Regions from separate parts of the Homo sapiens genome. Here region 1 is linked to region 2. Evidence: promoter capture Hi-C in human tissues and cell types (Jung and others, 2019). All regions are on one chromosome and are shown on one strand. Each heading gives the region's core, a stretch centred on a gene start or on the middle of the fragment in contact. The rest is flanking DNA. Distances are from core to core; before and after follow the strand shown.

Region 1 (6,714 bases), core at 3,006-5,505, 140 kb before region 2:
TTTTCTTTGCGCAGTTCTTTTGGCCAGAATATATGTCTTCTTCCAGACAGCAGCCTCATCTCTCTCCATCCTTCACTCGTTCTTCACTGGTGTAACTCTGATTCTTTCTTCAAGGCCTCACTTTCTTGCTCAAATGTCTCTTTTTCTGTGAAGTTTTCTCTGGTAACTCAATCATAGTTGCTGCTTCCCTTGCTGTGCTTATACTGTGCTTGAAGGCTAAAGTCTGCCTTACATTGTACTTGCTTACTTGCTTATCTGACACACTAGTTTGTATGCTCCTTGAGGGTAGGACTATCTGACCGGGTCTATTCCATCATCCATGGCATCATAACGTGATGTCTGGCACATGCTCAATACATGTTTACTGAGTGAGGGAACTGGAAAAGCACTGAGTGTTAATTCTCTAAAGTGAAACAGCTAGTTGACGTCAGTTGATCTTGTTAGAAATAGTTTTGACTTTTAGAAGCATTTTTGTAAGAGAGAAATAATAAAAGCAGGGCTGTCAGTGGGAATGAGGCCCCCTAGAATTATACAATGTCACGACCCTGGGTGAAAGAGTAGTAAGAGTTCAATATCAGAAGAGTTTAAAAGGATTGGAAGGTCCCAGAGTAGCCAGGAAAAATTACCTAAAACAGTTTGAAGTCAGAAAAACAGGAAGCCCAGGGTGCCACTTGACTCTTAATTTAGCCCTTCCTAGCCGGCAATTTAGTTCCCAGCCATTCTTTTTGTAGCACCTTCCTTAATTAAATTGTACTGCCATGTCAAGAAAAGCCTTGAAATAAAGCCAGTAACATGGAAGGCATATTTAGAAGTATGCTAAGTGCATTTTTATGCTAACACTTTAACTCTCAAACTAAATTCTAGCTATTGTGCAATTTAAGTCTTCTCTCTTGATTCTTTTGTAAGAAAGAAAGAGGGAATAAATCAGAATCTGAATCTGAATCTACTGGGATTAAAAAATAATCAGACTATTCTCTGAGCTTGTCTGTAACCACAGCCAAGCATGCCTTCTAATTTTGTCAAATGGGATTAGACATATGTAGGCTAAGGGAAAAAGCCACTAATCCCAAAGCCTAGATGGTACAAAGTATTGTAGATGGCTTAATTTCTAAGATTTTGGTACTATTCTAGCCCTATTGTCATTTCAGTTATTATGTGAAGAAGGTCATTTAACAGACTATATGTAAGGATTTTGTGATTTTTCCCATAGGTATTTAATAATGACTTATTTTCATATTTTAAATTTTGGTGCTCAATTCATTTTCGTCTTCTGAGATTGAATGGATGCCCTATTGCAATAACTATTCTCACTAATGAACCGGCTTGTTTTCATGCTAGGCAAGTAAAAAGGGGATCTGTGGAAAAAAGCCTTGAAATGAAAGCCAGAAATCATAGAGTGGGGCTGGATCATTCCAGAAGAGATGTGGGGTATATTCTCACAACATTTTTATCCAGTAAAATAAAGATTAAAATTTTATATTAAAAGCATGCCTAGAAAGAAAAGAAAATTACAAAAGAACAGTAGAAACTCTAAAGATTATATGGGAAGGACACTCTAAGTTGATTTGCCTCAGTAAATGACGGAAATTGTACATGAGCTGATTATCTATTTGTCTGTGAACCTTGGATATAAATAATGTTTCTTTTTTAAACCATTTTTTGCCACCACCAGACCCTAGATCTTGAGCCTTAACCCACCTCCACTTTCTGGAGTGGGAATCTCTAAGGTTGGCTTTCAGATTCTAAAGATATGTAATCGTGACTGTGCTAAACTCTTACCTCATTTTGCTGTCTAGACCTATGATTATTAATTTTCATTTGGAAACACTCAGGGGTACCTCTGTCTCAAATGGTGCTAAAGGATTCTAAATACAAAATTAACTCTATATACACAAAATAGAACGTTATAACTATAAAGCAGAGTGACTGCATTTTAACAAAGTTTGCCACACCATGCGCAATTAAATGGATTTTGTCAAAGACTTCTTAAGTGTCTTTGACAAAGTATCAGGAAAAGTATCAGTGTCCAGCAGCTTGTTGATGCCTTCTGGTGATTCTACTATTGCTCAGGACAGCGTGGGGACTTTAGCTTCAGAGTGCGTTTTGCCAATTTCAGCGGTGGAATTAAGGGGGAAGAAAGCTCAAGTGTGTTCCCTCTTCCCCACACCTTGCCCCTATTAATCAGTTCCCACACCTGGCCCCTATTATTTGGTTTCTGTCCTTATAGTGTTGTCTTTTCTGTAAATGGATTTCATATAAATGGAATTATACAATATGTAGCCTTTTGTCTTTGCTCATTTTAGATTTCCTTGTAGAATTTTGAGAATTTTTTTTTTTTTTTTTTTTTTTTTGAGTGTGGGTCTTGCTTTGTCACCAAGGCTGGAGTGAGGGGGCATGGTCATAGCTCACTGTAGCCTTGAACTCCTGCGCTCAAGTGATCCTCCCACCTCGGCCTCCCAAAATACTGGGATTACAGGTGTGAGCCACTTTTTTTTTCTGCCTTACTTTTATCTTAGTAGCGTCTGGCATGGGCAGAGCAGAGATAAAATGTTTATGTTCAACCTATCACATTTAACTAGAAATCTTGTTTAATAGTTTTACAGGAAAAAAATCAGAAAGTGGGAGTATAGAGTGAAATCTTCCAATTTTGCAGTTGAAATCAAACTTATTTCATGAGAGAAACCATTTGAAGCTTTCAGGGTCTTATTTATGGTAAGCTCTCAATAAAATGCCAATTCGGCCAGGTGCGGTGGCTCACACCTGTAATCCCAGCCTGTAATCCCCTTGGGAGGCTGAGGCGGGTGGATCTCTTGAGGTCAGGAGTTTGAGACCAGCCTGGCCAACATGGTGAAATGCCATCTCCTCTAAAAGTACAAAAATTAGCCGGGCATGGTGGCGCATGCCTGTGATCCCAGCTACTCAGGAGGCTGAGGCAGAAGAATCACTTGAACTCTGATGGTATAGGTTGCAGTGAGCCGAAATCATGCCACTGCACTCCAGCCTGGAAAACAGAGTGAGACTCCATCTTAAAAAAAAAAAAGAAGCCGATTAGTTTGATTTGCATCTACAACAACCCCAAAAGGGAGGTTTAGTATATCCTGTATACAAGTGAGGCAACTAGAATTCAGAATATTTACATAACTGTCAAAGACTTCACAGCAGATAAGTGGCTAGGAATCAAACAAGGTATTTCTGATTTGAAAACCTGCACTCTTTGCAATTACAGCACATCATAAGCATTATGTAATAAACATGGGACAACAACTATTTATAATATACCAGGCTTCATTACGATCTGATTTATTACAGTCCTAGGGCAACCTTGCACTAATGGGAGGTTAGTCATGAAATTTGCTCTGTGTGCTGTTTTTGGCCAACTCACTACCACATTGGGCATCATCAGAAGGCGTCTACCAATGAAATGTATAAATAAATAAATATATATGTATATAAAAAGGTGGACTAGAGTTGGACATAGATCAAACAAGGGCAACTGAGATGATTCAAGGAGCGTGTGTCCTGCCTTAGAATTGCAGACTGGAGGCCAGGCCTGGTGGCTCATGCCTGTCATCCCAGCACTTTGGGAGGCCAAAGCAGGCAGATCACTTGAGGTCAGGAGTTCAAGAGCAGCCTGGCCAATATGGTGAAACCCCGTCTCTACCAAAAATACAAAAATTAGCCAGGCGTGGTGGTGTGTGCCTGTAGTCCCAGCTACTTGGGAGTCTGAGGCAGAAGAATTGTTTGAACCCAGGAGGCGGAGGTCACAGTGAACTGAGGTCACACCACTGCACTCCAGCCTGGGCTACAGAGCGAGACCCTGTCTCTAATTAATTAATTTAAAATAAGCTTAATATCTCTGATTATCAGGGAAGTACAAATCAAAACCACAATGAGATATCATCTCACCCATTAAAATGACTATTATCAAAAAGATAAAAACATAAACGCTGGCAAGGATGCATAGAAAATGGAACTGTTATGCACTGTTGGTAGGAATGTAAACTAGTACAGCACTATGGAGAACAGTATGAGCGTTCCTCAAAAAAACACACATAGAACTGCCATATGGTCCAGCAACCCCACTACTGAGTATTTACCCAAAGGAAAATGAACCAGTATACTGAAGAGATATCTGCACCCCTATGTTTATTGCAGGACTATTCATGATAGCCAAGGTATGAATCAACCCATGTCCGACAATAGAAGAATGGATAAAGAAAATGTGGTATATGTACACAATTGAATACTATTCAGCCATAAAAAAAGAATTAAATCCTGTTATTTGCAGCAACATGGATGAGCCTAGAGCAGCAGTCCCCAACCTTCTTGGCACCATGGACCAGTTTCGTAGTAGACAATTTTTCCACAGACTAGGGATGTGGTGGGTGGTGGGTGGGAATGGTTTGAGGATGAAACTGTCCCACCTCAGATCATCAGGCATTAGTTAGAGTCTCATAAGGCGCGCACAACCTTATGAGATCCCTCGAATGTGCAGTTCACAATAGGGTTTGCCCTCCTGTGAGAATCTAACGCTGCTGCTGACCTGATGGGAGGCAGAGCTCAGGCAGTAATACTCGCTCGCCTGCTGCTCACCTCCTGCTGTGCAGCCTGGTTCTTAACAAGCCACAAACCAGTACCAGTCTGCGGTCTGGGAGCTGGGGATCCCTGGCCTAGAGGACATTATGTTAAGTGAAACAAGCCAGTAACAGAAAGTTAAACACCACATGTTCTCATTCATACGCAGAAGCTAAGAAAGTTAAACTCATAGGAGTAAAGAGCAGAACAGAGGATTCTAGAGGCTGGGGAGGATAGACAGGGAGGGATTTGTTAAAGGATACAAAATTATAGCTAGATAGGAGGAATAAATTCTACAGCTATAGCGTCCCACAGCACTGTAGGATGACTATCGTTAACAATAATATATATTCCCAAATAGCTAGAAAAGAGAATATTTTAATGTTCCCAACACAAAAAAAGATAAATGTTCAAGATGATGTATATGCTAATTACCCCAATCTGCTCACTATGTATTGTATGTATTGAAACATCACTATGTATCCCATAACAATGTACAATTATTATGTGTCAATTTTTAAAAATTAAAAAATAGGCCAGGTGTGGTGGCTCATGCCTGTAATCCCAACACTTTGGGAGGCCGAGGTGGGTGGATCACCTGAGGTCAGCAGTTCAAAACCAGCCTGGCCAACATGGAGAAACCCCGTCTCTACTGAAAATACAAAAATTAGCCAGGCATTGTGGCGGGCGCCTGTAATCCCAGATACTTAGGAGGCTGAGGCAGGAGAATCGCTTGAACTCAGGAGGCAGAGGTTGCAGTGAACTAAGATCACACCGCTGCACTCCAGCCTGGGTGACAGAGCAAGACTCTGTCTAAAAAAAAAAAAAAAAGGTTCAGCATATGAATAAGATTCTTTCATGGAATATTAAGAGAAGTAAGTGATGTTTATGTTATACCCATTCCTTTTGTAAACAGATGTCACAAAAAACAATGACTCCCCCTTCAAAGCTATCATCGGAAGCAAAGTGTTAGGTAAAAGGGCCCTTGGTTTTTCCTGGCTTCTTCAAGTAGAGTTGTCTTTTCTTGTCCTTACTTTATGAGATGTCCTAACTGTAGATTATACCATGATTCAAGAACAGCTAGACATGCATACACATGAATTTGCAATCAGTTATTTAGAACACAGAAAAAAAAATCAGAAAATGAAGGGAAAAACATTTGCACATAGCCAGAATGTACGTCACAAAACCCATGTACAAAACCTCACAGTTTACTCATATGAAGAGTCATCAAGCCTTTGTACAAAATCTTATTACTGTTATTTTGCACACAGTTCTAACATGTTTGGGCACATGGTTTCCAAGCCCATGACAAATACTGACTTCTCAGGTAGATTTGCTGGACATACCACCTACTCAGGGAAATTTATTGAGAGCTATGAAATTGACATTTAATTAAACAACTAATACCAGACATTGAAACAACAGAAAATTCAAATTAAGCAAACAAGTACAATAATAAAACAATCATTAGCATTTCAGAAGGATTCTTCATTTTGCAAGTAGATTTATCAGTGATACTTCAAATAGTAATTTCTATTAGTGATTTTTAAATGTTATTTTAAAAATGTGATTTATATGCAACTTTTTAGGAGCACTTAATGAAACCATGTGCACTTGTAATGAATTCAAATTATGATTCCTAAAGGGAGGCAGTTATGTCTTTTTTTTTTTTTTTTTTTTTGAGACAGAATCTCATTCTGTTGCCCAGGCTGGAATGCGGTGGCATGATCTCAGCTCACTGCAGCTTCCACCTCCCAGGTTCAAGTGATTCTCCTGCCTCAGCCTCCCGAGTAGCTGGGACTACAGGTGTGTACAACACGCCCAACTAATTTTTGTATTTTTAGTAGATATGGGGTTTCACCACGTTGGCCAGGCTGGTCTCGAACTCTGGACCTCAGGTCATCCTCCCACCTCGGCCTCCCAAAGTGCTGGGACTACAGGTGTGAGCCACCATGCCCAGCCTAAATATGTCTTTAAATTCTACCTTTGTAATATTAACCTTTGTATTGAGGGACTACATATTGTTTTCTGTCACAAATAGTTTATTATTTTGCATTTATTTTTCTTTCCATTAGAACTGTCTTATATATTTATCATTTGTATTGAGAGACTACATATTGTTTTCTGTCACAAATA
Region 2 (6,917 bases), core at 861-3,360:
TAATGAAAGACTGGAAGAAGGTACCCACAAGCCATCTTGTGTTTTTGTGTTAGGGTTGTCCCTGACCCATTTAAGATACCTCTACATTTATATTATTATATATTTTTTTTGAGATGGAGTCTCACTTTGTTGCCCAGGCTGGAATGCAGAGGCACGATCTTGGCTCACTGCAACCTCTGCCTCCCAGGTTCAAGAGATTCTCCTGTCTCAGCCTCCCGAGTAGCTGGGATAACAGGTGCATGCCACCAGGCCTGGCTAATTTTGTATTTTCAGTAGAGATGGGGTTCACCATGTTGGCCAGGCTGGTCTTGAACTCCTGACCTCAGGTGATCCACGCGCCTTGGCCTTTCAGAGTGCTGGGATTATAGGCATGAGCCACTGCGCCTGACCATTTATCTTAATTTTTTTAATTTAAAAATGATAATAGGCCGGGCGCGGTGGCTCACACCTGTAATCCCAGACTTTGGAAGGCCAAGGCGGGTGGATCACAGGATTGAGACCATCCTGGCCAACGTGGTGAAACCTCATCTCTACTAAAAATACAAAATTAGCCAGGCGCAGTGGCGCACTCCTGTAGTCCCAGCTATTTGGGAGGCTGAGGCAGGAGAATCGCGTGAACCAGGGAGGGGGAGGTTGTAGTGAGCCGAGATCACGCCACTGCACTCCAGCCTGGATGACAGAGCAAGACTCCATCTCAAAAACAAACAAAAAAAATAATAAACATATACTTTAAAATATCGAGTTCTCAGTTAAAAATATCATCATTGGTATGATTTTAACTTACTAGAAAATCAACTTCAAAACCATATATAAAGAAAAATTTATAGGCCAGAAATCCTAATACTATTTTTCCATTTCCCTTCTAAACTTCATTCACATATGCATACATACATGATTTTAACATAGTTGTAATTATAGTTTACCAACAAATTTAAGTTCTACTTTTTCTACTTTGCATTACTTTAAAAATGTTTGCTTATTTCTGCATATCATCAGAATCAGTTGAAAGGCTACTTTAAAAAAATTAAGTTGATATACTGTCTTTTATCCATTCCTGTATGTAGAAACATTTTGGTTATATCTAGTTTCAAGTTATTGCAAGTAATATAGTTAGACTTATCTCTGCATAGGAGGCTTTTTTCTTTTAAAAGTTATGCATTTAGAATAAATTCCCAGCAATGGTTTTACTAGCTTAAAGTATATGAACATTTTTACAAGTCTTAATATATAACATATTTACCCTTTGCCCTTCAAAAAAATTATATCAACCTTCATTACCACAGCTATCTGAAACAAAACTGAATACCTAAAAAGGTTGCAAAGTGTTGAATTTTATTTTTTTAAGCATTTCACTTTATTTTTGTTACATTATCTGGTACATTAGGGTTTTAATTTTGATTTCTTCATTATGATTAATAATTTTTAAGTTATAAGAATGCCAGGAACCATTCCAAGGAGTTTATCTATATAAAATTATGTTTTCTCTAAGAATAATTTAAATAAACTCTCAATGCATGAAAATATAAAAACCAACCCTTGATATATTAAATATAAGATAGATTTTTATATTTCCAGAAAATAAATCATCTCATTTCACAGAACTAGAAAGGCACAGATAAATAGGCTAAGAAAGAAAATAAGACTTCTAGATTTTTCAGCATATTTGATTGTTGTAAATAAGAAGAAATTAATTCAAAGACATAATAGCTTCTTTTATTATTGAGAAATTTTTTTCAGGATGAGAAAGTTCATCTAACCTGTATCTTTTTTTTTTTTTTTTAAGGAAATGTTAAGGAAATGATACAGGCTTCCTATATCTTTTTCCTTAAAAACGACTCTATGGACTTAAGTTCACCGAAGGAAGTGGAATGATGACATGCAAAATGACAACACAACTAATTCTATTTTTTAAGCAGTTAAGAAAACCAGTTTGTAAATAACCTACCTGATCTTGACAAGCACAACAAACTGATGAATAAGTAGAATCTCAACATATGGAAACTGGAGAGATCGTGTGTCACATTCACAAGAATGATTTACTTCGCAGAGGCTTAAGAGTTTCCACTGTGGGATTTTGCTCACAGTGAGCTCAGACGACTCAGAGGTGTGGTGACAACAGGAAGTTCCCTAGGGACTGACTGCAGGCAGTCCCAACCCTTTCAGGATCTTTGACTCCTCCTCTTTTCAATAAAAGGTCACTCATTGTCTACTTTATACAATTTTGTGCATATCTTAATATTATAATCTGCATCTGCAGAATGACGAGTTCAGAATAGTTTCATTCTTCGTGGGCGGTTTATTAGTTGTTTGGCTTGGTGTGTTGAAACCAAGTGTGACTTGAGATCTTTTCCCCTTGGTTCTTGTGAATGAAATAACAAATCCAGTTTGTATCTGTTGGCCTGTATATACAAAACCAGTTTTTATGTTAATTCATACACTCATTCATCATAGGGCAGTCTTTAGATTTTAAGAACATTTCATTAGGTCCAATTATACATCTACATTTGCCAAAATATATGTATGCTTCAGATTAAAAGAAACTTTTTTTGGTATTATATATCTTTATTTGTATTTCTTCCTACCGAGAATTTCTACAGCTCTAATAGGTCTTTTTTAAAAAAGAAAAACAGGCCGGCACGGTGGCTCACGCCTGTAATCCCAACACTTTGGGAGGCTGAGGCGGGTGGACTGCTTGAGGTCAGGAGTTTGAGACCAGCCTGGCCAACATGGCGAAACCGTCTCTACTAAAATTACAAAAATTAGCCGGGTGTGGTGACACGCACCTGTAATCCCAGCTACCTCAGGAGGCTGAGGCACAAGAATTGCTTGAACCCGGGAGGCAGAGGTTGCAATGAGTCCAGGTCACATCACTGCACTTCAGCCTGGGCGACAGAGTGACTGTCTCAAACAATAAATACATAAATAAAAAGGAAAAATAAATGAAAAACTTTCAAATAGAACCCCATGCCAGAATCTATGTATCTCAGGGATAGAGGTAACTAAACTTGTGCTTCATAGCTCCAAGGTAATTTAATTCCCTTTCTGGCGAGAGTGCTTGCAACACTAACTCAGGCTTCTAGTGGTCTGATGAGCTTAAAAATCAATTAATAAGCCGGGCGCGGTGGCTCAAACCTGTAATCCCAGCACTTTGGGAGGCCGAGGCGGGCGGATCACGAGGTCAGGAGATCGAGACCATCCTGGCTAACACGGTGAAACCCCCTCTCTACTAAAAATACAATTAGCCGGGCGTGGTGGCGGGCGCCTGCCAGCTACTCGGGAGGCTGAAGCGGGAGAATGGCGTGAACCTGGGAGGCGGAGCTTGCAGTGAGCCAAGATCGCTCCACTGCACTCCAGCCTGTGCAACCGAGCGAGACTCCGTCTCAAAAAAAATAAATAAATAAAAAATAATAAAAAACATTAATATGCTGGGCGCGGTGGCTCATGCCTGTAATCTCAGCACTTTGGGAGGCTGAAGGGGGTGGATCGCTTGAGCCCAGGAGTTCCAGTCCAGCTTGGGCAACATGGCAAAAACCCATCTCTGAAAAAAAATACAGACATTCTTTAGTGCACCTGTGGTCCCAGCTACTAAGGAGGCTGAAGTGGGAGGATCACCTGAGCCCAGGAAGCAGGAAGTTGCCATGAGCCAAAATCATACCACTGCACTCCAGCCTGGGTGACAGAGTGAGACCCCGTCTCTAAATAAATAAATAAATAAATAATAAAGACGCAACTTAAGAAAACATTTCATCCAAAGCATCAGGCAAAAGCAATTAGTCATTTAGCATTGTCTACCTGAAGTATGGGTTTGTGAAGTAATAGTACCGCTCATATAAGTTTATCTATTAGTTCTCTTCATGTTCCCACCCCATTTGAGTAGCAGGAGATTCCTTTGCAGGAAGTAGATTCTAGCAATGCTTCCCAAGAAGTCAGTAAGTCAGAATCACCTGGGGGCTTTTAAAAGTACTGTGTGCAGATTTCTGTGTCACACATCAGACCTAATGAATACCAAGACTGCCTAGGGCTGACTTATTATACTAACCTGAGTTCAAATCCCTTGTCTTCCACTAGCTTAGTTGTGTAGACTTAGGCAAAACATTTAAGTTCTTTTTTTTTTTTTTTTTTTTTTTTTTTTTTGTGAGACGGAGTCTCACTGTCGCACACGCTGGAATGCAGTGGCGCGATCTCGGCTCACTGCAGGCTCCACCTCCCGGGTTCACGCCATTCTCCCGCCTCAGCCTCCCGAGTAGCTGGGGCTACAGGCGCCCGCCACCACGCCCGGCTGATTTTTTTGTATTTTTAGTAGAGACGAGGTTTCACCGTGTTAGCCAGGATGGTCTCATCTCCTGACCTCGTGATCCGCCCGCCTCGGCCTCCCAAAGTGCTGGGATTACAGGCGTCAGCCACCGCGCCCGGCCCGCCGCTTTCTTTTCTTTTCTTTTTTTTTTTTTTTCAGACAAAGTCTCACTCTACCACCCAGGCTGGAGTGCAGTGGTGCAAGCTCACTGTAACCTCGAACTCCTAGGCTCAAGTGATCCCCCTGCCTCAGCTTCCCTAGAACTACAGGTGTATGCCACCACGCACGGCTAATTTTGTGATTGTAGAGGTGGGATACTTGCTACATTGCCCAGGCTGGTCTCAGAACTTCTGGATTCAAGTGATATTCCCACCTCAGCCTCCCAAAGTGTTGAGATTACAGGCATGAGTCACCGTGCCTGACCCAACATTTAGGTACTTAAAGTCTGTTTTCTTAGCTGTAAAATGAAGATAATAAAATCACACATTTCACAGGGTTGTTATACGGACTAAATGAGATATTACAGCTAAAGTCCTTAGCACTGCGCTAAGGTGAGCGCTCTGGCAGCTTGATAACTGTTGTTATTATCTAGCTGGCCACACATCTGTACCTTTCCTATCCAGCAGAAGGCAGGCTGCACAATGTTGAGAAGAGAGACTTAGACAGGACTTTTAGGACTGGGGGCACCCTAAGTCTTGGGTCTTCAGGTGAGAGACTTCAGTCACCACTTCAGCCTGTTTTTGGTTTTGGTTTTGTCTCCTGCTTGGAGAAATAAATTAAGGAACTGTGAATAAGTGAAACCAAATAGGTCGGGTGTGATGGCCCAGGCCTGTAATTCCAACACTTTGGGAGGCCAAGGCGGGCGGATCACCTGAGGTCAGGAGTTCGACACCAGCCTGGCCAACATGGTGAAACCTCATCTTTACTAAAAATACAAAAGTGAGCCAGGCGTGGTGGCAAACGCCTATAATCCCAGCTACTTGGAAGGCTGAGGCAGGAGAATCGCTTGAATCTGGGAGGTGGAGGTTGCAGTGAGCCAAGATCGCGCCACTGCACTCCAGCCTGGGCGACAGAGTGAGACTCTGTCTTGACAACAAAAAAAAAAGAAAAACCAAATAGATGGCCTGTTAGCCTGTCTATTTTTCGCTCAGCTTTTGTTTAGTTTAGAGAAAAATTTGCTTTTATTGCTGTAAGCTTTACTAATTTGAAAACAACTGCCCTCTGGAACAAATGGAGACTTGTTTCACATCTCTTTTAGGAACCTGTTAGGGAATTCCTTGCTCCCTGTTCAATCAGTGTACTTGCCTGATAAATATTTGTTAGGTCCTGTGAGTTTTAAGTACCATGCCAAGTGCTTATCTACACAGAGCTAATGTACATTTTCCTGGAAACTATCCAATTATAGGAAAGGGAATCATTTCTGTTGGGAGGATTCTTTGTGTTACTTTTTGTTGTTGTTGTTGTTTTTGAAACAGGGTCTCACTCTGTCATCCAGACTTGAGTGCAGTGACTCCATCACAGCTCACTGGTCTTGACCTCCTGGGCTTAAGGGATTCTCCCACCTCAGCCTCCTGAGGAGCTGGGGTCACAGGCACATGTCACCATGCCCTGCTAATTTTTTAATGTTTTTGTAGAGATGGTGTCTCACAGTGTTGCCCAGGCTGGTCTCAAACCCCTGGACTCAAGCAGTCCTCCCGCCTTAGCCTCTCAAAGTGCTGGGATTACAGGCATGAGCCACCGTGCCTGGCCTCTTTGTGTTACTATTAACGATTTTCCTGCTGGTGGGCACAGAAGGTCTCTAACTTCTTAACGTGCTCCTTTCTATTTTAGGCTTTCAGAACAGCACAAAAATCGATGGGAGAATCTGTCCCTTATTTTTTTGCAATAGTGAGAAATATCAAATATAAGAAAACATAAAACATTCCCGAGAATGGGGAGAGGAGAGGCAGGGAGGAGAGGAGAATGGGTTTGACTGTAGAAGAATCTTTTAGTTGGCCAGGCTCATGCCTGTAATCCCAGCACTTTGGAAGGCCGAGGCAGGTGGATCACCTTTGTCAGGAGTTGGAGACGAGCCTGGCCAACATGGTGAAACCCCGACTCTACTAAAAATACAAAAGTTAGCTGGGTGTGGTGGCAGGTGCCTGTAATCCCAACTACTCGGAAGGCTGAGGCAGAAGAATTGCTTGAACCCAGGAGGTAGAGGTTGCAGTGAGCCGATATTGTGCCATTGCACTCCAGCCTGGGTGACAAGAGCAAGACTCCATCTTAAAAAAAAAAAAATCATCTTTTAGTGATGAAATAATTGTGTATCTTAATTGTGGTAGTGGCTATGTGGTGGTGGACAGGTGATAAAATAGCACAGAACTACACACATTTACATGTGAAACTCTAAATGAGATCTGTGGATTGTCAACCAGGGTCAATTTTTTTGTTTTGCTTATTTTTATATTGATTTTTTATTTTTTTGAGACAAGGTCTCACCCTGTCACCCACCACAACCTCCAACTCTTGGGCTCAACTGATCCTCCACCTCAGCCTCCTGAGTAGCTGGGACCATAGGCACAAGCCACTGCACCTATTTTTGTAACTTTCTGAGAACCAATAATTATTTTTATTTTCTTTT

What was found. The method cuts DNA at HindIII sites, captures the fragments that hold promoters and counts their contacts. A contact is called where the count stands out against the background at its distance.
Region 1: a fragment that was not itself captured here is called in contact with the fragment with the promoter of LIPH in region 2 in 1 of the 25 tissues and cell types used here (dorsolateral prefrontal cortex).

The regions. Positions count from the first base shown.
Region 1 is chr3:185,405,544-185,412,257 of GRCh38, forward strand. All of the region lies in intron 1 of MAP3K13 (mitogen-activated protein kinase kinase kinase 13), which reads left to right. Among named protein-coding and RNA genes, the nearest start is that of MAP3K13, 46 kb to the left of the region's middle. The HindIII fragment of the contact is 6,044 bases long and covers 1,234-6,714 here.
Region 2 is chr3:185,550,478-185,557,394 of GRCh38, forward strand. It overlaps LIPH (lipase H), which reads right to left and starts at 2,111. Exons shown (of 10, transcript NM_139248.3): 1 at 1,946-2,111. The coding sequence starts at 1,994. RefSeq lists enhancers at 2,121-2,200, 4,352-5,027. The HindIII fragment of the contact is 12,609 bases long and covers 1-6,752 here.